6 separate regions of the Homo sapiens genome follow, and all the other regions are linked to region 3. The links are contacts of gene promoters, found by promoter capture Hi-C in blood cells and fetal thymus (Javierre and others, 2016). All regions are on one chromosome and are shown on one strand. The core of a region is centred on a gene start or on the middle of the fragment in contact, and the rest is flanking DNA. Distances in the headings are between cores, read along the strand shown. Region 1 has its middle 99 kb from the start of C14orf180. Region 2 has its middle 170 kb from the start of LINC02691. Region 3 holds the start of KIF26A (kinesin family member 26A). Region 4 overlaps PPP1R13B (protein phosphatase 1 regulatory subunit 13B). Region 5 has its middle 130 kb from the start of C14orf180. Region 6 has its middle 73 kb from the start of C14orf180.

Evidence for each region. The method cuts DNA at HindIII sites, captures the fragments that hold promoters and counts their contacts. A CHiCAGO score of 5 or more calls a contact.
Region 1: a contact is called between a fragment that was not itself captured here and the fragment with the promoter of KIF26A in region 3, in 1 of 17 cell types (naive CD4 T cells). The highest score is 6.0, in naive CD4 T cells.
Region 2: a fragment that was not itself captured here is called in contact with the fragment with the promoter of KIF26A in region 3 in 5 of 17 cell types (naive CD4 T cells, non-activated CD4 T cells, endothelial precursors and 2 more); the score reaches 8.5 in naive CD4 T cells.
Region 4: a contact is called between a fragment that was not itself captured here and the fragment with the promoter of KIF26A in region 3, in 1 of 17 cell types (megakaryocytes). The highest score is 5.6, in megakaryocytes.
Region 5: a contact is called between a fragment that was not itself captured here and the fragment with the promoter of KIF26A in region 3, in 2 of 17 cell types (naive CD8 T cells and non-activated CD4 T cells). The highest score is 5.6, in naive CD8 T cells.
Region 6: a fragment that was not itself captured here is called in contact with the fragment with the promoter of KIF26A in region 3 in 8 of 17 cell types (non-activated CD4 T cells, total CD8 T cells, naive CD4 T cells and 5 more); the score reaches 10.0 in non-activated CD4 T cells.

The regions. Positions count from the first base shown.
Region 1 is chr14:104,478,506-104,482,234 of GRCh38, forward strand. No RefSeq gene overlaps it. Among named protein-coding and RNA genes, the nearest start is that of C14orf180, 99 kb to the right of the region's middle. The HindIII fragment of the contact is 2,394 bases long and covers 379-2,772 here.
Region 2 is chr14:104,394,785-104,399,091 of GRCh38, forward strand. No RefSeq gene overlaps it. Among named protein-coding and RNA genes, the nearest start is that of LINC02691, 170 kb to the left of the region's middle. The HindIII fragment of the contact is 1,470 bases long and covers 1,839-3,308 here.
Region 3 is chr14:104,136,724-104,140,421 of GRCh38, forward strand. KIF26A (kinesin family member 26A) reads left to right here and starts at 1,864. Exons shown (of 15, transcript NM_015656.2): 1 at 1,864-2,041; 2 at 2,320-2,565. The coding sequence starts at 2,000. It overlaps KIF26A-DT (KIF26A divergent transcript), which reads right to left and starts at 1,906. Exons shown (of 3, transcript NR_158217.1): 1 at 807-1,906; 2 at 144-519. RefSeq lists enhancers at 1-454, 455-1,166 and a silencer at 863-1,032. The HindIII fragment of the contact is 14,398 bases long and covers 1-3,698 here.
Region 4 is chr14:103,803,575-103,807,688 of GRCh38, forward strand. The region is part of intron 1 of PPP1R13B (protein phosphatase 1 regulatory subunit 13B); the gene reads right to left. Among named protein-coding and RNA genes, the nearest start is that of PPP1R13B, 42 kb to the right of the region's middle. RefSeq lists an enhancer at 3,319-3,418. The HindIII fragment of the contact is 4,253 bases long and covers 1-3,664 here.
Region 5 is chr14:104,449,225-104,453,523 of GRCh38, forward strand. It overlaps the pseudogene CEND1P1. Among named protein-coding and RNA genes, the nearest start is that of C14orf180, 130 kb to the right of the region's middle. The HindIII fragment of the contact is 8,232 bases long and covers 1-4,299 here.
Region 6 is chr14:104,504,652-104,508,441 of GRCh38, forward strand. No RefSeq gene overlaps it. Among named protein-coding and RNA genes, the nearest start is that of C14orf180, 73 kb to the right of the region's middle. The HindIII fragment of the contact is 166 bases long and covers 1,929-2,094 here.

The sequences.
Region 1 (3,729 bases), core at 326-2,825, 340 kb after region 3:
TTTGCATCCTCAAATTTCTCATGCAAACCACTCCTATTCCGAAGAGTCCCAGATGCAACTTTGGGGCAGTGTGGCCGTTAGCCCCCACGGGGACAGAACACAGGGGGATCTGGCTTCTCCGCTTGCCTCTTCATAGGATCCCAGCAGGCCTGGCCACTGCATCCCAGGATAGCAGCCGTGGAGCCGGACTCCATTTCCCCCCAGCTCGAGGGGTGCTGGGGGCCACTGGCAGAGCTCCTGCAGATGCAGATGCTCCTCTGCCTCCATCATGGCAGTCCAGGGAGCAGATGTGTGTCTGCACAAGCCCTCGTCACTCACACATGGTTGAACAGGCAGGACGTGGCCAATTCCTTGTCAGTTTTGTCCTGAGAGGCAGAAAGCTTGCCCCTGGCGGCCTTGAAATGAGGGGCTCATTTGGGGCTCCTGAAAGCTGAAACTCCAACCCAGGAAGTGCCCCAGAGCCAGGCAATCCTGACACACTCACTCTCCTTCCACACTGGGAGACAGCAGCTCTGCTCTGCCCACCGGCCCAGCTGGCTTCCAGCCAGGTTCTGCCCTCTGAGGCCCTGAAACTACACTTGTCCCTTTTTAGAAGTTGTCAATGCCCACCAGTGCCCAGGAGACTCTAGGAAGGACTGCAGTGAAATGCTCAATGTGTTTAATCCATGTTTCCCACTGGCCCAGCCATGCCTTTGACCCACAGGACAGCAGCCATGGGTGTGCTTGGGAAAACCACCATGATGGGTCCAGGCAAGAGCACCAGCCTGAGCATGGGTCACGCTAACGTGGGTGGCTCAATTAAGGAACAGGGATGGACTTCTTGTTCTGTGGCCCCCACACGCTCCTGCTTCATCCGGTGGCCATTTCTGGGTGAGGCCTGTTCCCCCACATCTCCGCAGTGGGTCCCTCTGCCCAGGCTGCTGCCAGCTCCCACCTCCCTCGGTGCCCAGCGTGAGGCTGGGGCACAGTGGAAGGTCTGTGAACCTGTATTAAGCAAAATAGAAACTAAATGTGGACTTGAACTGGACTGAAATGAAATTGAGTTAGACTGAATGAAAATGGATTGGAATGGAATGGAATTCGGATTTGAACTGAATGGAATTGAATTGGAAGTGGACTAAAATGGAATTGAACTCTAATCTAAACACCAGTCAGGCAGGAGAGATGGACGGGCTGAGCCAGGGGAGCTGCCCTCACCCCACCTGCCCCCTGCCCTGGGGAACCCTCTGGTCAATACTGCTAATAGGAACTGAAAATTAAAGAAAATGATGCTGATGGATTTCCTTTAATATGCACAGACGCAGCTCAAAGAGAGTGTTTCTGGAAAAGCAGTAACAGAGCCTGCAGAGGTCACGAGGCACCTGGACCAAACCCTGAGATGCTCCCAGGAACAGCACTTGAGTTGTGCAGTTTAAATTCGAAGCGCTGTCCACCTTCAGCAAGCACCTGAGCCACAGAAGAGGCCCCCAGAAGCCGTCTCCAGCAGACAGGAATGAGGAGGCACTGCACACGGGCAGGGTGCATGCGGGCCTGCAGTCTGAGGAACACACCTGACGTGGGGCAGCAAGGATTTTCCACCACAGGGTCACTCTGTCTGTTCAGGGTCCCAAGGGCACCGAGAACACCAAAGACTTCAAGGGCCTGACATCAAACACTGCTCTAAGGGGTGAGCAGACACCTGCCAGGAGCAGAGGGAGGGCCCCCTGGAGAGCAAGAGGACTCAGCCTTCCAGCACTGGCCGAGACGTGGAGCTGCGAGGTCACTCACCAAATAACACAACAGCCTCTAGAAGTGGGAACGGCCCTAAGCTGACAGCAGCAAGAACACAGAGACCTCAGTCCTGCAACCTTAAAGAACTCAGTCCTGGTCACAGCCCTTGTCACCAGTGGGATCTGGTCTTATTTTTACAGGAAATAAACATGGTCTATGAGAATGTTACCAGGTCCATGCCCTTCACCCAGCACCCTTCGGCCTGCTTCTCCTGCACATGAGAACATTGTTTTAATCAGCACCACACCATCAGCATGTTCGGGAGACTTACAGGACCCCATTCTGGCATCTCTCAGGGCATGGTGTTGGTCAAGAAGGTGTTTCCGGAGCAAAGCGTGCCCTGCTGACCCCCAGGCAGGTGGCATTCTCTGCTTCAGGGACTGTCTTCATTCTCCTGTGTCTTTCGGGCTGGATGGGCGGTCCAATGTCCACTCCACATTTCCCCAATTTCAAGTTCTTTCCTGCATTGAGGGGGAGAAGCCAGGAAGGACCCCCAGGCCCTGTCCCCTAGATGGCTCCAGTGAGGTTGGCAACAGGAGGAGTAAGGTGAAATTTGGAAGGTGGCGGGGGGACCCAGGGCCTTTTCACCAGCTGGTGGCTTCTCCGGCTTTTCCACCCACTCCCCCGTCACCACTACTGATGGCGACTCGAGATTTGTGGTAGTTTCCTGGGTAACCCCTGAGGACCCCTGCCATAGTGATTCAGGCTGGGCCCATCTGGGCTTTCTTTCCAGCCCCTCCTACCTCACCTCCCTGTGCTGGACCCTCTGCTCTACTGCTTGGAGCCCTCCATTTCCCAGCCCCACCCAAACCCATCCATGCTTGAATTCTTTTCTGCTCTATTTCTTGTTGTTCTTCTTTCATTTTTCTTTTTCTTTTCTTTGGAGGCAGAAACAAAAAGATCCCTCTTCTCCCTAAATGCCTGTATCTCTACTCTCCTCCGCTTTCTCTGTGGCTCAGAGGCCACTCCATGGCATAAGGTTGCCATTCTGATGTTTCCCAAAGCTTGAGGCTGCCTTTCCTGGCTGGGCTTCCCACTCCCCAGGAAGCTCACTCTCTACCCATGGCTCCCCCACATGTCTGGGTGGCCCTGACGTCCTTGCTCCAATACCCATGGAGATCACCTTTTCTAGCTCTGGCGAGAGCTCCAGGTCCACACCTTGGCTGGAGCGGACCGGAGCCTCCTCTCAACCCCCAGCCAAGTGGGCACCTTTCTCTTTCCAGACCTGCCAAGCCCCCCGCAGCCAGTGCTGCATCGGCCACTCCCACTGCCAGCAACAAGCTGGGCAGGCTCTGAGCACCGCCCCTGCTGCCCCGGGTCCTGGGTCCACCCCTACAGAGCAAGCCCACCCGTCCAGTCCCCACCGTACCACCAGGCACAGCCCTCCACAGCCCTCAGCAGCACAATCTGAAAGCTTCTGGATTTGCTCTTCCTGGCTGTTTGCCTCTCTCCCCATGGGGAGGCTATCAGGGGAACCCACCCCCAATATTTCAACGTAGGTTCTTTCTATTTTCCCTACGTTTTGGCTGGCTGAGAAATAAAAAGAAAGAGTACAAAGAGAGGAATTTTACAGCTGGGCCTCTGGGGGTGACATCACATATCGGTAGGACCATGATGTCCTCCTGAGCTGCAAAGGTTTTTATTAAGGACTTTCAAAGGGGAGGGGGTGTACGAACAGGGAGTAGGTAACAAAGATCACATGCATCAAAGGGCAAAAAGGAGAACAAAGATCACATGCTTCTGAGGCCAATAAAGATCACGAGGCAAAGGGTAAAGCAAAGATCACAAGGCAAAGAGCGAAATCAAAATCTCCTGATAAGGGTCGATGTTCAGCTGTGCACGTATTGTCTTGATAAACATCTTAAACAACAGAAAACAGGATTCGAGAGCAGAGAACCAGTCTGACCTCAAATTCACCAGGGTGGGTTTTTTCCCCCACCCTACTAAGCCTGAGGGTAC
Region 2 (4,307 bases), core at 1,324-3,823, 260 kb after region 3:
AGGCATCACCATCCGCAGCCAGGCAGAACGTGAGGCTGGTGCTGTGACCTGGGCCAGCACTTCCCTCACACTCTCCTTGTCCTTCCATGCCTGGCCTCAGTGAGGAAGGGTCCTCCTGGAGATGGGGCTGGGCAGACGTCCCTGGAGGGTCCCAGGAAGGCTCTGAAATCTGGCACATTCTGCAACCTATGTTCCAACCACTGACTCCAGGAACTGGTGCATGGGCTGAAGCAATGAAGAAAAGTCACCGTCCCATGAGGCAAAGCTGATTTAAAAGCTCACTTATTCTTAGTGGGAAAAATGGGGTTAGCAACCATAACATTTGAAAACCAACTGGAAATAGGCTGGTAAATAACTTTATGGAATTGTTGGTTCGGGAATTATGTTAGGAACTTGGAGTCTGTGATTATCAAGCAAAAAATGTCTCAGCATTTCAGGCCAGGGTCAGGGAGAGGGTAGGGGTGGGAATGGGGTCTATAGAGGTTATAGGAAAAGAAATCTGAGTGGTTGTTTAGGAGACTGAGGAGACTGAAAAGACCCTGAAACCCCACGGAGGTGATCAGGGACACTGGCCTGCCCTGAGATGCCTCTTCCAGTGTGCCTTCCTCCCCGCTGCCCTGCCCAGGCCAGCTCCCTGGAAACCCACTAAGAGGAAGGGTGTCTTGTGACCAGCCACATCACGAGATGTCCCACATCGCAGATTTCAGGTGCAAGGATTGAGGTGTCACAGCAAACAGAGGAGGGGCTGGGGTAGGTGTGGTTCTACAGCAGCTCTTAAAACAGAATAAACAAAAACTACAAGCGGTCTGCCACGGTGGCTCACACCTGTAATCCCAGCACTTTGGGAAGCTGAGGTAAAAGAATCACTTGAGCCTGGGAGTGTGAGGCTGCTCCCTCTGGTGAGCTGTGATCACACCACTGTACTCCAGCCTGCGTGACAAAGCGAGACCTTGTCTCTAAAGAAAACAAAACAAAAACCAAGTGTAATCAACCTTGCCCTTGAAAATGCGTTAGTCCACCCACCAGGTCATCTGGAATCTATCTTGGGATAGGTGGTGACCTGGTAGGACCAAGGGTCTTCCGAGGCACTGAAGAACTTGGGTTTTGCTGTAGATCTGAGTGGGGAGTTTTGGGAGGAAGGGGCGGGAAGTACCTTGATCTCACTGCCAGGGCCCCTTTGGCTGCTGAGGGGACAGCAGCTGAAACAGGACGGGCAGTGCACGTCCAGCGAGGACACCCTGGCCGCAGGTCTGCCCAGCGACAGGAGGAGGGCTGCATCTGGGGTCCGTGGTGGAGGTGGACACAGCGGCCAGCTTCTGGGAGCGTTTTAGAGTGAAGTCCACAGGACGTGTGTGAGGGAGTGAGCCGGCATCCAGGGCAAGGTCCTGAGATTCAGACGGTGGTGCTGTTTGGCAGTGACCCTGGGTGTGGGCGTCCCGGGTGCCGGGGAGAGCTCATCTTCAGAAATGAGGAGGCCGGGGGTGGCACAGACTGTCCACACAGGGGTTCTGTGGCCTGGCGTGCTGCCAGTCCAGAGATCCCAAAAAAACCTGTGTCCCGGCTGCTGTCCTTGGCCCTGCTCTGACCCCTGCTCTCCCCGCTGCTTTTCAGAATTGCTGCTCCGTGAATTTCTGAATTGCAGTACTCGCTGTGCACCTGTCTCTTCCTTCGGGAGCCATTGTCAGGTGGGATTGCGTAAATGTCCTCCATGGCGTGAGGCCCTGACTCACCTGAACAACATTCCCCAGTGAGCACGGAGCAGCAGCCCGCCCGGCTCAGCAGTGCCTTGCCCTGGCCCTTTCTCTCCTCGCTGGTTCATCTGCATTAAAGAAACAGAAAGCTTCCTTCGCTGGCCCGCTCATTGCCTGTCTTCTCTCCCTGCCTCAGCTGCGGTCAGGCTCCAGGTGAGCTGCACCTGGCCGTCTCAATTACACTGCTTCTCTGGCATCGGATAGGAACTCTATGGCCAACTTACCCACAAGGTGGTCTGCAATATCTTTGAATAAATTAATGATTGAATGAATGTCTTAGTCCATCCAGGCCACTACAACAAAACAACACAGATGGGGCAGCTTAACAGTGGACATTCATTCCTCACATTTCTGGAGGCTGGGAGTCCAAGGTGAAGGTGGCAGCAGGGTTGGCTCCAGAGAGGGCTGCTTCCTGGTCCCCGGACAGCCTCCTTCTTGCTGTGTCCTCTCATAGCAGAGAGAGGATGTTCTGTCACGGGCCCTCATGACCTCCTCTAAGCCTCATCAGCTCCCAGGGGCCTCACTTGCAAATACCATCGCATTGGGGTCAGAGCTTCCACATAGGAAACATTTGGTCTGTAGCAACGAGTGAATGAATCATTACAGATTTCTCTATAAGACCACCAGGTCTTAATGTATTCAAAGATATTGCAGACCACCTCTTGGGTAAGTTGGCCATAGAGTTCTTATCCAATGCCAGAGAGGCCGCGTAAATGAGACGGCCAGGTGCAGCTCACCTGGAGTCTGACCGCAGCTGAGGCCGGGAGAGAAGACCGACGACGTCTGAGTCGTCAATGTTGTGAAAGATCTCCAGAGTGATGAAATTAAGGGTATTTATTTCTTTAGTTGTTGCTTTTGTTGTAGCAAACAAAATGAAACAAACACACATGCACACAAAACGACCAAGCAAAAAGTGTCCGCTACTTGTTAAAGTGAACCTCTAGTAAAGTTGTCTCTCTTTTTGTCACCGAGGATGAGAAACAGAGATGGGAATTCTATCCTCATGGAAAACAGGAGGCACCCACAACTCTGAGCCCCTGAGAGTGTGAAGGCCTTGCCGAGTGACCTCGCTGCTCCAGGGCGAGGCGGAGGCCAGGCTGCGGGGCTGCACAGCCAGCCAGGGAAGCTCCCCGCCCCAGGACTGCCCTCCCACACACTGCAGACAGTTGTTTCGGGAAGAACTCACTTTATATGCACAAATAAACAATGACAGAAAGGAATGAAAATAGTGTCCACTGAAAACATTACAAGAAAAAGGAAGAAAATAATAGAAAAGGTAAAAAGCAAAGACACAAAAAATCCTCGCATTGGGGAAGATGATGGAAACCTTCTTAACAATCAGAAACTTAACGATCTAAATGAAAATGTCTTTCACGTAAAACAAAAGCCAAGACAGACTTCAATAAGAAACAAAAAGATGATAGGAGATTTCAAAAATAGGCAGGCAGAGCTCAAGAAAAGAAGCAGAATTTTAAAAATCACAAAATGAAGGCCACACTAGAATCAAAGAAAAAGAGAATAGATTCTCCTAAAACCATTGCCAGGGATGTGGAGTCAAGCTTGGAAAAAGTGAAAAAAATTCACCAGAAAAGAATAAAGAGTTGCGATGGTTTAGAGGAAAGGATAGAAAAGGAAAACACAAAATGCCGACACAACACACACATAATTGGTGGCCTTGCAGGAGAAAATCAAATATAAAAGAAAAATAATTCAAATAATTCAAGAAAATGTGGTGAAACTAAAAAAGATGAAATCTATGGATTAAGAGGGTATATCATGTTTCTACAAAAATTGGTGCACTTGATCAGCACTGAGACTTGGGGGTCAAACACGAAGAATTTGTTTGGCACCGAGGCAAAAATATGAAGGCCCTGACATGAGAAGAGAAGTCCAAGCTGGCTTCAGATTTTCTACGGCAACACCTCATCTTAGAGAAGAGGGAAATAATGCCTGCAAAATCTCCAGGAAAAGAAAGTATGAACCAAGAATTTTATATCAGAGTAAAATTTTAGAACAGAATAAAGCTGTTACTCATGCTGAATCATAAAAAAGCGCTTCTGAAAATATTCACAAATGGAGGAACTCTTGTCTACTGAAGTTCCTTTTAAATAAATAAATAGAGAATGAATTTTAGTCCACCAAAAGGCAAATGAACAGGCTGTGAAGGACTAGGTCAAAACAACTGAGAGACTTAGGCCGTGGAGCGTTAAGTAGTGTGGAGTGTGTCAGTGGAGACAGGCGGCAGAGCTTTGGTGGCCTGTGACAAATAAATCCGGACAGCTCCTCCTCTCCCTGTGGGTGCAGCCACTCACCCAGGAAGTCCACTTCCCTCCACCTGACTCTAGGCTGGCCTCATGGCTTCTTTGGCCAATCCAATGAGGCAGAAGGGGTGTCTTGTGAGTTCTGGAACCTGGGTCTTAGGGCGTGGTAGCTTCAATTTTCACTGTCATGGCAAATCCTGATGCCGGGGCGCCTTCTGATATGGTTTGAATAAAATCTCACCTGAAATGTGATCCCCAATGTTGGAGGTGGGGCCTGGTGGGAGATGTTTGGGTT
Region 3 (3,698 bases), core at 614-3,113:
AGCCCGGGCTGGGACTCGCTGCCGCACTTTCCCCCATTAGCGTTGTCCAAGTCTCCCTCTGCCTTCAAGGCTGTGTCCCAACCGGACCCACCCGGAGGCTGTGGCTAGGGCGGAGAGCGCAGCGCAGGGATTCTCGGGCTCACCTTGCGCCTTGCTAGGATGGGCGAAGTAGGGGGTCGGGGCCCCTGACTGATCGTGAGCCCCCGAGGTGACTCCAGCCTTGTGCACCCCGTGTTCTGCGGATATGGGATGTGAGCTTGTGCTTCCCGAAGCGCCGCGGCGGTAGAAGCGCTGAAGTTGCGGGTGTGGCTGGCCAGGGGCGCAGGACCGGTGCTCCCGACCGCTGCGTGCTTCTGTGTTGCGTGTGTGGGTGGGGGGACGGGATATAGAGAGTGTGTGTCCCGGAGCAGTGGAGCGGCGGGAGGCGGTGCTGTCTGCCGGCAGTGCGGGGTGGGGTTTGGGTGTTGTCCTCAGTACCCAGATCCAGATGTGGGCTGACGCCCGTTTTCATTCTCCAGGCTGCGAAGAGACGGGTAGGGGAAGCGCTTCCGGCCCCCCAGGCTGGGTGGAAAGCGACTGCAGGCTTACGGATCTCAGAAAGAGTGGAGAGCCCCTGCCACTTTATTCCATACCCCCTTGCGTTTTCGAACCCCTAAGGTCATCAACGACCCGGAAAGCCGGGAGGGGATCACCCACCCCACTTTCTGGGGAGTGCGTGCGTGGGCGGGGAGGCTTATCCAAGTAAAAGGGGGTGGGCAAAACGGAAAGGGTCACTTTGACGTACTGAGTCTCTGCGAAGGCCTCACCGTATGTGCCGGCAGCCGCGTGTCCTGGTCTCCGCCGGGTCACGACCTTCGGAGTTTCCGAGTGCGCCTCAGGCCTGGGACGCGCGGCGCTGTCTCCCCAGTCTCGGAGCCGTGTGCGCAGCGGCCGGCAGGGGGCACTCGCGTCACGGGGAGCCCGCCCGCCGCGCCCGCCTGGCTTGACCCGGGCTTTGGGGCTGACCCGGAGCCTGGCCCGGAGCTGCCTGCGGCCGCGGATGCCGGCGACATTTGGGGCCCGGCTAGGCACAGAGCAACTGGTCGCCAGGGAAGGGCGGGGGGGCGGCCTCCCAGCCGGAGACAAACAAGCAATTAATTCCGGAGCTGAGTTCCCATCTGCCAGGCCTGCTGACAACAGGTCCGGCGCACGCCCGCAGGACCTCCCGCTTCCCGGGCGGCACGGCGCGCACACCCACTTGCGGGCACACGCGCGGCTGTAAAGACACGTGCCGTTCGCAGACGCGCCGAGGCACAGATACGCCGGCGCGGTCGCTGCCCGGCTCGAGGCGCACACCGCGGCGACACTAACCCACGCGCGACAGTTAGACCTAAAGTGGCCCGCGACACGCAGAGTACGCTGGGCTTGCTGGAAAGGCGCCTGGGAGTCTCGGGGCCGGGGTCCCGCCCCTTCCTCGGCCCACCTCGCCGTGGGCCTTGGGCAAGAGCGTCCCCTCCGCAGCCTCAGTTTTCCCGCCTGTAGAGGGAGGGGCGTCGGCGCCTCCTGGGAGACGCGCAGCCCTGGTGTCCCGGGAGAGGGGCGGGAGGCGCATGCGCGCGCGCAACTAGATCCTCGCCGCCGCCCCCAGCGCCCCTCCCCGGGGCAGGGACTCACCTAACAGGTTGGGGTCCTTGGAGTGCGCGGGGCCGCGTGGGGAAGCGGGGACCCTACCCCCCCCACGCGCCGCCCAGCACTGGGCAAGGGCGGGGCACTCTCTGGGCTCCCGCCCCTCGCCGCCCGCCCCGGGAGCCCGAGCCCCGCCCTTCCCCGGCCCCGCCCTCGCCTCCCGAGCGCGCCCACCGGAGCCACCGCGCTCCTCGCGACACTCGCAGGCTCTGCGAACTTCCGAGCGGCTGGGCCGGGCCATGGGGGCGCCTCGGGGCCGGATCACGTAGCCGCGGCGCCCCCGGAGAGCCAGCGTGGCCGGGAGCGCCTGCCGGGCTCTTCCCGCGCCCCGGCCATGGTCGGCCGCGGCGTCCCTCTGTGCGCTGCGCAGCCCGCGGTACGCGCGGCCCGGCCTGGAGAGGGAGGCGGGCGGCGGGGGCCCGGGACGGCGAAGATACTCGCGGTGTGCGCTGGATCCCTGGGGGCCGGGCCTCCTGCTGAGGGTAGCGGACCCGCAGGCGGGACCTCCGGGGATGGAGGGAGTGGGTGAGCGCCAGGGTCGTGCCCAGGGCTCCTAACTTTGGCAAGAGCGTCACGCTGGGGCAGGGCGCGCAGGGGTCTGGATCCGACGGACGTCCCAGGCTCACTGTCCGCTTCCGCCCCCACACCCTGCAGGTGGCCGAGGGCGGCCCGGCCCGCGAGCCGCCGCCGCTGCTGGAGGTGTCCCCCCGAAAGAGGCTACCCGCCGGGCCCGACCAGGACCCATGCGGCAGCCGCCCTGCTCCCGAAGGCGCCGGGGCCGGCCCAGAGCAGGGCCACTCGGCCGGCGGAGGCGGCTGGTGCCGCCACTGCCACACGAAGCTGGTGGAGCTCAAGCGACAGGCGTGGAAGCTGGTCAGCGGGCCCGGGACCACCCTCCGGGTAAGTGACACTTCCTTAGGCCGACCCCTCCGAGCAGGGCCACGCCGAACTTGGGTAGAACTTGGGGCTTGGAGGGAAGCAGGGTTCCACTCCTTCCCTGCTGCTGTTTCCACAAAGAGTTATCAGCCAGGACTTCCCTTCTGCGGGCCTCAGTTTCCCGGTCTGTAACACCATGTGTGAGCTAGGGAGCTCAGCCCGAGGGGCCCTGCTGCCTCGGATGGGAGGGGCCTGGGCTGGCGTTCCTCCCCCAGCCCAGATGTCCCACAGCTGGAACGCAGGTTTGTGTGGGAGGAGGAGGGGAGAGAGCGGATGGCAGGGACTCCACCCAGGGCGGGACAGCTCCAGCCCTACCAGCAGGGAGAGGTTATTTGGTGCATTGTGGCCCTTGGGGCACCTGGGCCCCCAGCCAGGTGTCTGGAAATTACATACCTGGGGCCGGGGGGCCTGGCAGGTGAAAGGGTGGGCCACAGCAGCTGGGGGGTCCCTGCCTACTCCTCTCCCAGCCTCAAGGATAAGAACTGTTGTCCCATACCTCCTGGGATAGACTGAGGCAGTGGCCGCCCATGGGGAATTGAGTCGGGGCCCTCTGGGTTCCCCAGGCTCCAGCCCCAGGGGCAGGTGCTTGCAGGGGAGGGGTTCTCCTGGATTTCCAGCCAGTGGGCCTGCCGGCTTTGGAGGGAGCAGGGACCATTGTTCCAGGAACAATGCATGCTGGAAGTTTGCAAAGGCTGGGGGCGGGTGGGGGTCTCCAGAGGAAGCCCGCTGCCGGGCCTTCAGCCTTTATGAAAGAGTTCCTGGGAAGTCCGCATAATCCCCATTGAATCTAAATATAGTTCTCTAAGGGCTGTGGGGGTTGGAGTGAGCTGAGACCCTGACTGCCCTGTCTGGGGCAGGGCAGGGTGGGGCAGGGTACCAGTCTGGTTTCTGTCCTGGGCACCGTCTCCGGGCTCTCTGGAGTCTCGGCGAGGGATAGGATTGCTGTAGCCTCTCTCTGGCTCAGGCCAGGCGCCTGTGGGCCTGTCCTGGGGTGGGGCTGGACCCGCCCTGTCCTCTGCTCTGGACAGGCTGCAGCCTTGGCCATACTCTGTGCCCCAGTGGCCTGTATCTAGTTTAAAAGGTAGCAGGAGACCCTT
Region 4 (4,114 bases), core at 288-2,787, 330 kb before region 3:
GGAGCTTGCAGGGAGCCGAGATAGCACCACTGCACTCCAGCCTGGGCAACAGAGCGAGACTCCGTCTCAAAAATAAATAAATAAATAAATAATTAATTAATAAACAAATAAATAAAAGATTTGGTTAGCTACAGTTAGGAAAACAAAAATTTCTAATTGTGTGCTGTAACAAATATAGCATGTAATGACAAGATGCCCTACTTATGCCTTTCCTCAAACTGCTTCTCTGCCCTGATGAATCACACAACAAATCCTGCCCCTTTCTGCTCACTGACAGTACTCTCTACCCATCCTGACCTGACCTGAGAAAGACTGGAACCAATGTCTGCCCATCTTGACCCAACCTCAGATAAAGCCTCCTCTTCTCCCCTGCTGTAACAGACTGTGGCTATTTATAGTACAACTTTCTTACATTAAATTATCAATAGTTTTCTTGACTACATCCTCTACTGGAACAGTATCTGTGACTCATTACCTGGTCTTGAAATCATCTAAGTGTGTCTTAACTTGCTCCATTTTTTTTTTCATTCAAAAAAGTTGGAAAATATCATACTAGACCATAAGGACAATACTTGTGTTCTCCAGCTCAGTGCCTGGACACACAGTGGTGCTCAAGAAATGCAGGATGAGGCAGGCAGAAAACTGACAACCATTATTAAGTAGCTTAAGACGTCATCTTACCCTTGCTTTCAGGAACATCTGAACTAAGAAAATCAACTGAAATCAAATAATCACTAATTTAAGTAAACCACACAGATATTTTAACATTTTTACAAACTTGGTATTTAAACTATTTTCTTGGCAATCCAAGGAAACCAAAGCAAAACACAAATTGAGGATGTATAAGCTATTAAAAAACAGGAATTAGCTGGGCATGGTGACTCAAGCCTGTAATCTCAACACTGAGGGAGGCAGAGGCAGGAGGATCGCTTAGGCCCAGGAATTTGAGACCAACGTGGGCAACATGGTGAGACCCCATCTCTACTAAAAACTAAATAAATGAATAAACAACTAGCTGGGCATCATGGTATGTGTCTGTAGTCCCACCTACTCGGGACACTGAGGTAGAGGATCACATAAGCCCAGGAGTTCAGTGCTGCAGTGAGCTATGATCACACCACTATACTACAGCCTGGGTGATAGAGTGAGATCCCATCTCTAAGGAAAAAAAAAAATCTAAACAGGAATTATCCTATAATCAAAGAGACAGACAATCACAAGCATTGACAAGGATGTGGAGAAACTGAAACCTTCATATATTGGTGATGAAGATGTAAAATGGTACAGCTATTTTGCATAACAGTCCAGCTGGAGTGCAGTGGCTCAATCTCAGCTCACTGCAACCTCCGCCTCCCAGGTTCAAGTGATTCTCCTGCTTCAGCCTCCCAAGTAGCTGGGATTATAGGCGCACGCTATCACGCCTGGCTAATTTTTTTATTTTCAGTAGAGATGGGGTTTCACCATATTGGCCAGGCTGGTCTCGAACTCCTGAGCTCACGTGATCTGCCCACCTCGGCCTCTCAAAGTGCTGGGATTACAGGCGTGAGCCACTATGCCCGGCCTAAAAAATTTTAAACACAGATTTGCCATATGGCCCCCAGCAATTCCACTCCTAGGTACCTACCCTGGGGAAATAAAAATATATGTCCACGCAAAGTCTTGTATGCAAATGTTCATAGCTGCACTGTTCATAGTAGCCAAAAAGAAGAAACAAGGCCAGGAACGGTGGCTCATGCCTGTAATCCTAGAACTTTGGGAGGCCAACGGTGGCAGATTACTTGAGCTCAAGAGTTCAAGACCAGCCTGGGAAACATAACAAAACCCCGCCTCTACAAAAAATTCAAAAAGTAGCTGGGCATGGTGGCACACGTCTATAGTCCCAGCTACTCAGGAAGCCTAGGTGTGAGGATTGCTTGAGCTCAGGAGGTCAAAGCTGCAGTGAACTGTGATCATGCCACTGCACTCCAGCTTGAGTGACAGAGCGAGATGCTGTCTCAAAAAAAAGGAAGGAAAGAAGGAAGGAAGGAAGGAAGGAGAGAGAAAAGGAAAGACAAGACAAAACCAAAATCTCCATTAACAGATAATTATGGAATATCATACAATGGAATATTATTCAGCAATAAAAGTAACAAAGTATTGACACATGCTACAACATGGATGAACTTTGAAAATACTAAGCTAAGTGAAAGAGGCCAGACACAAAAGACCACATGTTATATGATTCCATTTATATGAAATGCCCAAAACAGTCAAATCCATAGAGAAAGAAAGATGTGTGGTTGCCTAGGACTGGGGATGGGAATGAGGAGTGATGGCAAATAGGCACAAACTTTGTTTTGGTATGACAGTAATGTTCTAAAATTAGATTGTGGTGATGGCTGTACAACTATGTAAATTTACTAAAGATCACTGAATGTTCACTTAAAATAGGTAAACTTTACGGCACATAAATTATAACACAATGAAGCTGTTTTTAAAAAGTAGGATATATAAAACTTCTAGAAAAGGAATTCAGAAACTTGACTTACATGGTACAAAGAACCCTGGAATAGGAAGCCCAAGTTCTATCCTTAGCTATGGCATTGACTGCTGCAACTGGCTGGGGAAGCTGCTCCTTAGTCTATCTCTGGGTCTTGGTTTCTTGGCAAGAACTCAGCAGATAATATGAAACACATATTTGCAGGAAAATGGCTCTCAGGCTTTTCTGGCCCAACCCAATCAGGTAAAGTATTAGATCCCCCAGCTCACCTATACCATCTACTACTTCTTTCTGGTGGAAAAGGAGCTCAGGGATAACAAAAAATAACTGAAGAGAAATAAGGTGATAAAAGCTATACTAAATTTTAGTAACTTGCAATAACTCACTTGGTAGGTTATGAGTAAATAGCTCATAAAAGCCACAGAAAGGATCAGTTGGGGTGAGGGTGGGTGAACACCAGGAAGACCCCTTTAGCTTTCCAGCAGGCCACGCACCCCAAAATGAGAATTGATGCTAAGGTCCCTTCTGGCCCTGATTGCAACTCAGTTCACCAATTTAAAATCTCAGAAACATTAGAGCTGTAAGGAAAACTAAGTCTAAGCCATCACCCTAAATGCTTCATCTCACTTTCCTCAATTAGCCTCTCAAAGACTGAAAAACACACCTGGGAGTTGCTGTCATCCACACAGAAAAAGGAGAATAAAATAAAGGATTGGCTCAACTCCCTTCTCTCTCATACTCCACAAACAATCCATTAGCAAGACTGTCAACCTCGTACCCAGAAACTGATAACTCGTCTCCCTGGCTACTACCCAAGCCCGAGCCACCACCACCTCTCAGAAAGGATGTCTGCAAGAGCAAACTCATTCATCTGTTTCCACTCTCACCCTTCAGATACATCACTTCATTCAAAACCTTCCCGTGGTTTCCTCTCTGAGAATAAATTTCAAAGTCCTAACTATTGTCTAAGAGGCCCTGCAAGACCTGCAACACACACATGCATACCTCTCTGATCTCAGTGCTTACCACACTCTTCATCCCTTCTGCCTCCCTCAACAGGGCAAGCCAACTCCTGCCTCAGGGGCTTTGCACTTGCTATTCTCTGCATAGACCGCTTCACTCAGCTACTGACATTGTATTACCCTCTTCTTTCAGGCCTCTGCTGGAATGGTGTCTTAGCAAGGAAGCTTTCCTTAACCGAGAGTCTACCTAAAATAGCACTACTCCATCCCTCTGTCCTCCTACCCTGGTTTATGTATTTCTGCTTAGCACTCAACCACCACCTGATCTATGTATATATTTGTTTATCCTCTGTCTGTTGTCACTAGAACACATAAGCTTCTTGAGAGCAGAGTTTCAGTTAATTACCTGCTGTGTCAGTAGTGCCTGAAGCAGTGCCTGGCACGTAAGAAGCACTCAATAAACTCCCCCAATTATACGTAAAATGTCCCTTTTTTTTGAGACAGAGTATCACGCTGTTGCCCAGGCTGGACTGCAGTGGCGCGATCTCGGCTCACTGCAAGCTCTGCCTTCCGGGTTCACGCCATTCTCCTGCCTCAGCCTCCCAAGTAGCTAGGACAAAAAGTGCCTGCCACCACGCCCGGCTAATTTTTTGTATTTTTAGAAGAGACGGGG
Region 5 (4,299 bases), core at 1,104-3,603, 310 kb after region 3:
CAAATTGTCACTCTAGAATTCTATACCCAGAAAAAAAAAACTTAAAAACCACAGCAAGATGAAGACTTTTTGAGACATAAGAGAGGTAAGAGAATTCATTGCTGTCAGACCTGACTTATAAGAAATGTTAAATAAAGTCCTTTATGCAGAAGAAAAATAATAGCAAATGGAAATCTAGATTTGTTCAAATGAATGAAGAGCACTAGGAGCGGTAAACTTGTGGGTTTAATCATGAATGCACATAAAATATAGTCAAGTTCTTTAACACATAAATAATTGACTAAAGGAAATGTGATAACAACATTGTGGGGCTTATCACATGTATAGAAAGAAAATGTATAATTCAAGAACACAGACCCTGGGACAAGGGAACTAGATTATTACTGTTATAGGAATTTTATGCTACACATGAAGTGGTGTAATATTACTTATAGGTAGAACATAAGCTAAAGATGTATCCTATAAAACCTAAAGCACCCACACACAAAAATGATGTATAGCCAATGAGCCCACAAAGAAGATAAAACTAAATCATAATAAATACTCAGTTAATCCAAAAGAAGTTGGAAAAAGAGGAAAGAAAAAAAAGCAGATGAGGGAAAAAAAGCAAGTAGAAAACAACAAAGTGGAAGATTTAAACCCATCACATCGATAATCACATTAAAACTAAATACTATACTTGAAAGGCAAAGATTGTCTTATTGGGACAAAAAGGCAAAAGCAACTATATGCTAACTACCAGAAACCCACTTTAACTGTAAAACTATAAACAGATTAAGTGTAAAAGGCTAGGAAAAAATGCACCATGCTAATACTGATCAAAAGAAAGCTGGAATGACTATATTAATCACAATATAAGTAAATTTCCTGGCAAATAATATCAGTGATAGGTAATTTCATAACAGAGGGTCAATGTATCAAGAGGGCATAATAATCCTAAATTGTATCCACATAATAACATATATTCAAAATACATGGAGCAAAAACTGATCACCCTGCAAGTAGAAATAAATAAATTGAGAATTAGAGGTGTCAACTCCCTATTCTCAGTAATTATTAGAAAAATGTAGATAGAAAATGGGCAAAAAAAAAGGAGGCTTGAACAACACCATCAATCACCTTGACCTAACAGACATTTATAGAGTCCTCCACCCAATAACAGCAGAATACACAATCTTTTCAAGGACACACAGAACATTTACCAAGATTGACCATATTCTAGGCCATAAAACAAGTCTCAACAAATGGACTAGATTCATATCAAATTCTCAGCCAAAATGGAATTAAATTAGAAATCAACAACAGAAAGATATCTAGAAATTCAAAATATTTGGCAACTGAACAGCACACACCTCTAAATAACCCATGACTTGATGTGTTAGTCCTTTCTCACGCTGCTATGAAGAAATACCCGTGACTGGGTAATTTATAAAGAGAAGAGGTTTAATTGACTCACAGTTTTGTACGGTTGGGGAGGCCTCAGGAAACTTACAGTCACGGTGGAAGACACCTCTTCACAGGGCGGCAGGAGAGAGAATGAGTGTCAGCAGGAGAAATGCCAGATCCTTGTAAAACCATCAGATTGCGGAAACTTCCGAGCTCTACTCTGCGTCTGCAGCCGCCGCCGTCCTGCAGAGGAGCACGCAACCCAGGCGAGGCCGGAGGACGTGTCCATAGAATGCCCAGGGGTGACGAGCTGTCCTGAGCCCCTCTGCTGCAGCCACCTGCCTGTCCCATACACCCTGCCCACCACGGAGTCCAGAGGGAAATCGGCCAGCAGCCCCAAGCCCGACACCAAGGTGACCCAGGCCACCACCGAGGCCAAGGTACCCCCGGCAGCCGATGGGAAATCCCCCTTGACCGAGCCCTGGAAGAAGGAAGCCCCGGCAGAGAAGCAGCAGCCACTGGCAGCCCCCACCATGGCGCCTGCCAAGAAGACCCCGGCCAAGGCAAACCCCGTCCTTCTCAACAACCACGGCAACCTGAAGCCAGCCCCCACAGCCCCCATGGTGCCCAGCAGTCCTGATGCAACCCCGGAGCCCAAGGGTCCTGGGGACGGGGCAGAGGAGGACGAGGCTGCCAGCGGGGGCCTAGGGGTCGAGGTCCCTGTTCCTGCGAGAACTTGAACCCCCTGCTGGTGGCTGGAGATGTGGCTGTGGCAGCCATAGCCCTGATTCTCGGTGGGGCCTTCCTGGCCCAGAAAAAATAATACCTTCGGGCCAGGCGGGGGTCACAGAGCCACTTCCTGTGCAGATCTCAGGAAGCCAGCGCATGCAGAATTCACCCTTATCTACGTGTACACACGCACATTCATTACACATCTACATATGCCCCCAACACACGCACACAGTGGAGAAGATGCTCGAGCCCACCCTTGCTGATCCAGGACTTCCCCAACCTCCAGGGCAGAAGGAACCTAGGCTCCGGGGCCCACAGCGCCGGACTGGGGGAGAGGGTCTAGCTGGGGGACTGCAAGAAAGGAATGGACCCTGTGTGTGGCCCTCCAACGGCTGGGTGATCCTGGGCCCCCAGGGCTGGTCTCTGAGTGTAGGTGGGGGTGCTGGGATGGGTTCTGCCTGGGCCCAGCCCTCTTGGGGAGATTAAAGGGCGGACATTAATTGTTGAAAAAATAAAACACACCAAAAAAACGTCAGATTGCATGAGACTCACTTATTATCAAAAGAACACCATGGGGGGAACCACCCCCATAATTAAATTACCTCCACCTGGTCCCACCCTTGACACCTGGAGACTATGGAAACTGCAATTCAAGGCGAGATTTGGGTGGGGACACAGAGCCAAACCATATCTCTCAAATAAGAAATCAAAAGAGAAATTGGAAAGTTATTTGAGCTGAAAATGAAAACACAACATACCAAAATCAGGGAGATGCAGCTAATGTATGCTTGGAGGCAAATTTAAGCACTAAGAACCTATGTTATAACAAAAAAGAAAGGTCTCAAATCAGTGACTTACATTTTCACTTAAGAAACTGAAAAGAGAAGAGCAGATTAGACACAATGTAAGCTGAAAAAGAAAATAATAAAAAGAACGGAAATCAATGAAAGAGAAAAGTAAAAATTATAAGAAAAATCCAAGAAAGTAAAAGCTAATCATTTTAAACAATCAATTAAATTGTTAAACTTCTAGTCAGTTGATAAAGAAAAAGGTAAAAAGGCACAAATTACCAATATCAGGAATGAAAGGGTGGGTGTCACCAAATATTCTGCAGTCATTATAAGGAAACAATGGACTATTGTGAGCCACTTTTTTCTAATAAATTTGATAACTTAGATGAAATAAGCTAATTCCTTAGAAGCCATAAATTATCAAAGTTCACTCAAGAAGAAATAGATAACATGAATATCTATTAACTAAATCAAGTTTTTAATTAAAATCCCAATGACAAAGCAAACTATAGGCCCAGGTGGTTTTCATGGTGAAGTCTAACAATATTTGAGGAAAAAATAACAATTCTACACAAATCCTTCCAGACAATAGAAAATGAAGAGGTACTTTTTTTATTCGATGAAGAGAATGTTACTTTCCTACTAAATCAAACAGATATAAGAAACGACAACAGAGACCAATATCCCTCATGAACAATGATGAAAATATTCTTACCAAAATTTTAGCAAATCTAGTTTATCTAAATCATGACAAAGTGTAGTTTACCTCAGGAAGACAAAGTTGATTTAACATTCAAAAATCAATAAATGAACTTTATCTTATTAGCGGACTAAAAAGAAAAATGCGCATGATCATCTCAATAGAAAAAGCACTTAATAAAACCCAACATTGAGTCATGATTAAAAACCCTCAGAAAACCACGGATAAAAATGAAAAGTCCTCATAGAATAAAGGCCGTCTACACAAACAGCAACAACAACAACAAAAATCTATATCTTCCTAAAATTGAGAACAAGGTAAAGATATCTACTCTCACCACTTTTATTAAACATTGTACTGGAGGTTCTATCTCATGAAATAAGGCAAGGAAAATAAATAAATCATCTAGATTGGAAAGAGTAACACTTTCCTTATCATCTGTGTAGATCAGCCCATGGAATCCATGAAATAAAAGCCACTAGAACTAGTAAGTGAGTTAGCAAAGTGGCAGAGTTCTAGATTAATATACATAAACTAATGGTATTTTTACATATAACAATCAGAAATTGAAATTTTAAAAATGTTATCATTTCCAATACCATTAACAAATATAAAATTGTTAGCCATAAACCAATAAAACATGTGTAAGACTTGTACATTTTAAACTACAAAACATTGCTGAGAGAAATT
Region 6 (3,790 bases), core at 762-3,261, 370 kb after region 3:
GTCACGCCACCCTAGTGTAATAGCTGATAGGCTGACATCTCAAAGATTCACATCCTGGTGGCTGGGGCCTGTGAATGTGTGACTTCACATGGCCCCTGCCGGTGTGATTAAGTCAAGGACTGGAGCTAGGGAGTGGCTCTTGGATGGGGTGGACCCTGCATGCAATCACGGGAATCCTTTTAAGAGGAAGCAGGGGCAGATTTGGCAACGCAGAGGAGGAGACCGCGCAGACAGAGGCAGAGATGGAGGGGTGCAGCCACACCAGGGCCACCTGGAGCCCCCGAAGCCTGGAGAGACAGGGACGAGATTCTCCCTTTGAGCCTCCAGAGGGAACCAGCCTTGCTGACATCTAGATTTTAAAGCCATGAGACTTGTTCTGAATTCCTGGCCTCTGGAAATGTGAGATAATAAAGTAACGTTTTCTAATAAGGCCAGACCTCCAAAGCAAGGCTCCTCAGCAAACCACACGCCACCCACACCACACAGCCCCTCAGTCTGCGGATTCACAACACAACCCAGGAGATAGGACCCGGGAGACGCCGGCCCCCGCCTGCAGCCAGGCTGAGCTTGACGGCCACAATAGGGGCAGCCATAGCAGAGGGCTGCCTCAGAAGTTCTGCTTCACCACCGGGGAAAGTGCCAGGAGGCCTGGCACGTCCCGGGATAGTGAAGACGGGTAGCCACTGGGCCACCTGGAAGGTGACTGCGGCACCTGCACCCCCCGCATGGTTGCTCCCCACCCCCAGAGCTGCTGCAGGCACACCTGGCGCCTGCTCCAGCCAGCCTTGGCATCTTCCTCTCTGTTCCTCCCTCCGGGCAGGGCAACTGGGCAGGCTGGACACCCAGCAGGGGAGCTGTCCACATCAAGAGCTCCCCTTCTACTACCATTTCTGGGCCACGTCCTCCGCCCTCAAAACAGCAAACCCGTCTCCAGTGCCAGACTCGGGGCTGCACATGACCAGGGCAGGAGTAACTGAACTCGCAGAGGACAAAAAGAAGAAAGAGGAAGGGAATCCCTTCAGCGCCACAGCTGAGCTGTGTTTGCTGTAGTTTCTCCAATTTCTTTGTGAAAATGTAATCGCGGTCCCGGAGCACGTGGGACCCTCTGCACACTGACAGTGGGAGGGAGACTCACTGCAGGGGCTGCCGAGAGCCCCCGCCTGGGGTCCTTGACCTGCTGGGCTGGGGGGCTGGGGAGAGTCTGTGGGTGCAGAGAGCTGAGTCTCTGGGGCTGGGGCCCCTCCTCCTCCATGTCTTTCAGACAAGGTGTCAGGGCCCCACCTGGGACCACACTGACCTATCATAGCCAAGGTGACCTTGGCTGGCTGGCCCCTGAGTGAGGCTGGGGAAGGAGGCAGGAAGCAACAGGCCTGGATTTGGGATGACTGCCCCGCTGGGACCTCCTAGAAGGTGTCACCCTGAGGGGCCAAGAGGGAGGTGAGCCTCAGAGCTGAGGTCCACCTGCAGCCTTTGCCTGACCTTTGGTTCTGGGGGCAGCTTGGGGACCCCCACCTGCCACTGTCAGCCTTTCCACCTGCAGGGTCAGGCAACTTAAAACCTGAGGACATCACAAAGCAGGAAATGAGTTCCTAAATAGAAACCCACTGGGGTCTCCCACCTACTACCACCCCTCCTCCTCTCCTGCCTCCCTGCTCCTCCTGGCATGTTGGCTCCCCCAGCAACGCCGCCCTCCTCTCAGACACACACTCCCTACCTGCCTGCACCCTTACCCCACCCAGCCTCCTCTGGCCTCCCTGGCCCCCAAGTTCAGCCTCCTCGTTCCCTGTCCCTGCTCTGTCCCACCCAAGGAGCAGTGTGCAGCCCCTCCCCTGCACCCCTCCCTGGCGACCTCACCCCACATCTTGGCGCCAGGCACCTCCAGACACTCTCCCCACTTGTCTGCCATTAAGGAGACCTCTTGTCCTAGAAGCTTCCAGCAAGGCAACCACCACATTGCAGACCCCCTTCCTCCTGCCCCCTGCCCCAGGCCCAGGTTTGGAGCAGCTGCCCATCGCAGAGCAGCCACCGTGGGGTGTCAGCTGGCCGGGGTCACCTTCTCAGTGTTTGGCCATTTCCTCACTGGCAGGACCCTGAAGCTTCATCCAAAGCAAGAGGAGAAGACAGGTAAGGACTGCAAGCCACACTGGGCGCTTGGATCTGGAAGAGAAGGGCAGAGACTTGGCTGGCTGAGGGTGAACCTCTCCTCCACCGTGGGCAGCCCAGGCCCTGCCTGGAGAACAAGCAGAGGGGGAGATTCTCCCTCAGGAGAGAGCGGAGGGGGAGATTGCCCCCAGGTTGCCATGGGGCTGGGATAGAAGATTCTGTGACCAGGAAATGGCCCAGCCTGCTGCTCCACCTGGCTGCAGCCACCCCTTTCTCCAAGACCAGACTTATGGGTCTGTCTCCCTGCTGCCTCCCTCTGCCGTTCTGCAGCTCTGGGGAGCTCTGTAACTGGGGGGCCCAATTCTGCCATTCTGCAGCTCTGCAACTGGGGGGCCTGGGTCGGTGGGGAGGTGGAAGTTGCCCCTGCAGAGAGTGTGTTCTCTTTTCGGGGAGACCTGGGCCTCCTGGTGCTGGAGGGGCTCCCAGCTGTGAGTAGGCAGGCCCCATGTAGCAAGGAGACAGCTCGCCATGTGGACTCCCTTGGGTTTGGTGATTGGTCACTGCCCACTGGCGTGCACTCAGTGCGTTCCTGGGCCCACCCAGGCTTCTTGATCTCTTGTGATGTTTGTAATCTGGCATTTGGGAGAGAGTGAGGTAAAGGCAATTTTGCAACTGCAATAAAACCAGCAAAGTGATCCTCTGATGGTTCTTAATGAGATCCGTCTATCTCCCCTGACTGAGCCGGCAGACTGCAACCCCATGTGTGAGGTCAAAATGAATGTCACATGGTCCCCCACAGAACCAGAGAAGCCATCACCATGGTGCCTGGCCTAATCTGCTCCAGCATCCGACAGGAGTGATCAGAAGATACTCACAGGAAATTGTTTTTCCTGCCTCGTAACCATAACAACAGATGAGAGCTGGTCTTGCTCAACTTTCCGAGTGAGCATCTTTGTCAACATGTAGCCAAACCCAGGACACAAAAGCAGAGACCAGGGCTGGCAAAAGGGCACTTTGGAGATATCAGGGTTTGGGGCTCCTGTGAGGTCTGGATTCTCCCCTCTCCTGCCCCACCCGACAGGGATGGCTTAGAACGTTCCTGAGTGTGGACTAGAAGGTGGGTGGAAGGACAATGGGCCCCCTGGAAGTGTGCATACCTGGCATCACAGTGAGCTGTGGCTGCTGCCTGGGCAGAAGCTGAGAGGCTGCCTTGCTGCCCAGAGTCCCCACAGGCCTGCAGGTGGGCACCAGTCCTTGCTTCCCAGATTACAGTCAAATGCTCTGCCCATATCATTCCCTAACTCTGACAGCACCAGGTCCAGATCTATCCCCTAAACTGCAACAGTATTGCTGAGAGAAATTAAAGAAGAGCTGAATGAATGGAGAAGTATACCAAGTTCATGGATGGGCAGACTCTCTATGGCTAGGATGTTGTTCAGCCACCCCAAAATGATCAGTAGACCGAATGTGATCTTCATAATAATTCCAATGAGCTTTTTGACGGAAATTGATTGATTGATTCTAAAATGCATTTGCAAGTGCAAAGACCTGGAAAAGAAACATGATCCTGGATAAAGAGCACCGTTGGACTAATACGATCTGATTTCAGGATGCTGCAAAGCCCAGTAATCAGGGCAGTGAGATACTGGCGAAGAAATAGACACTTAGATAATGGAAGAAAATGTAG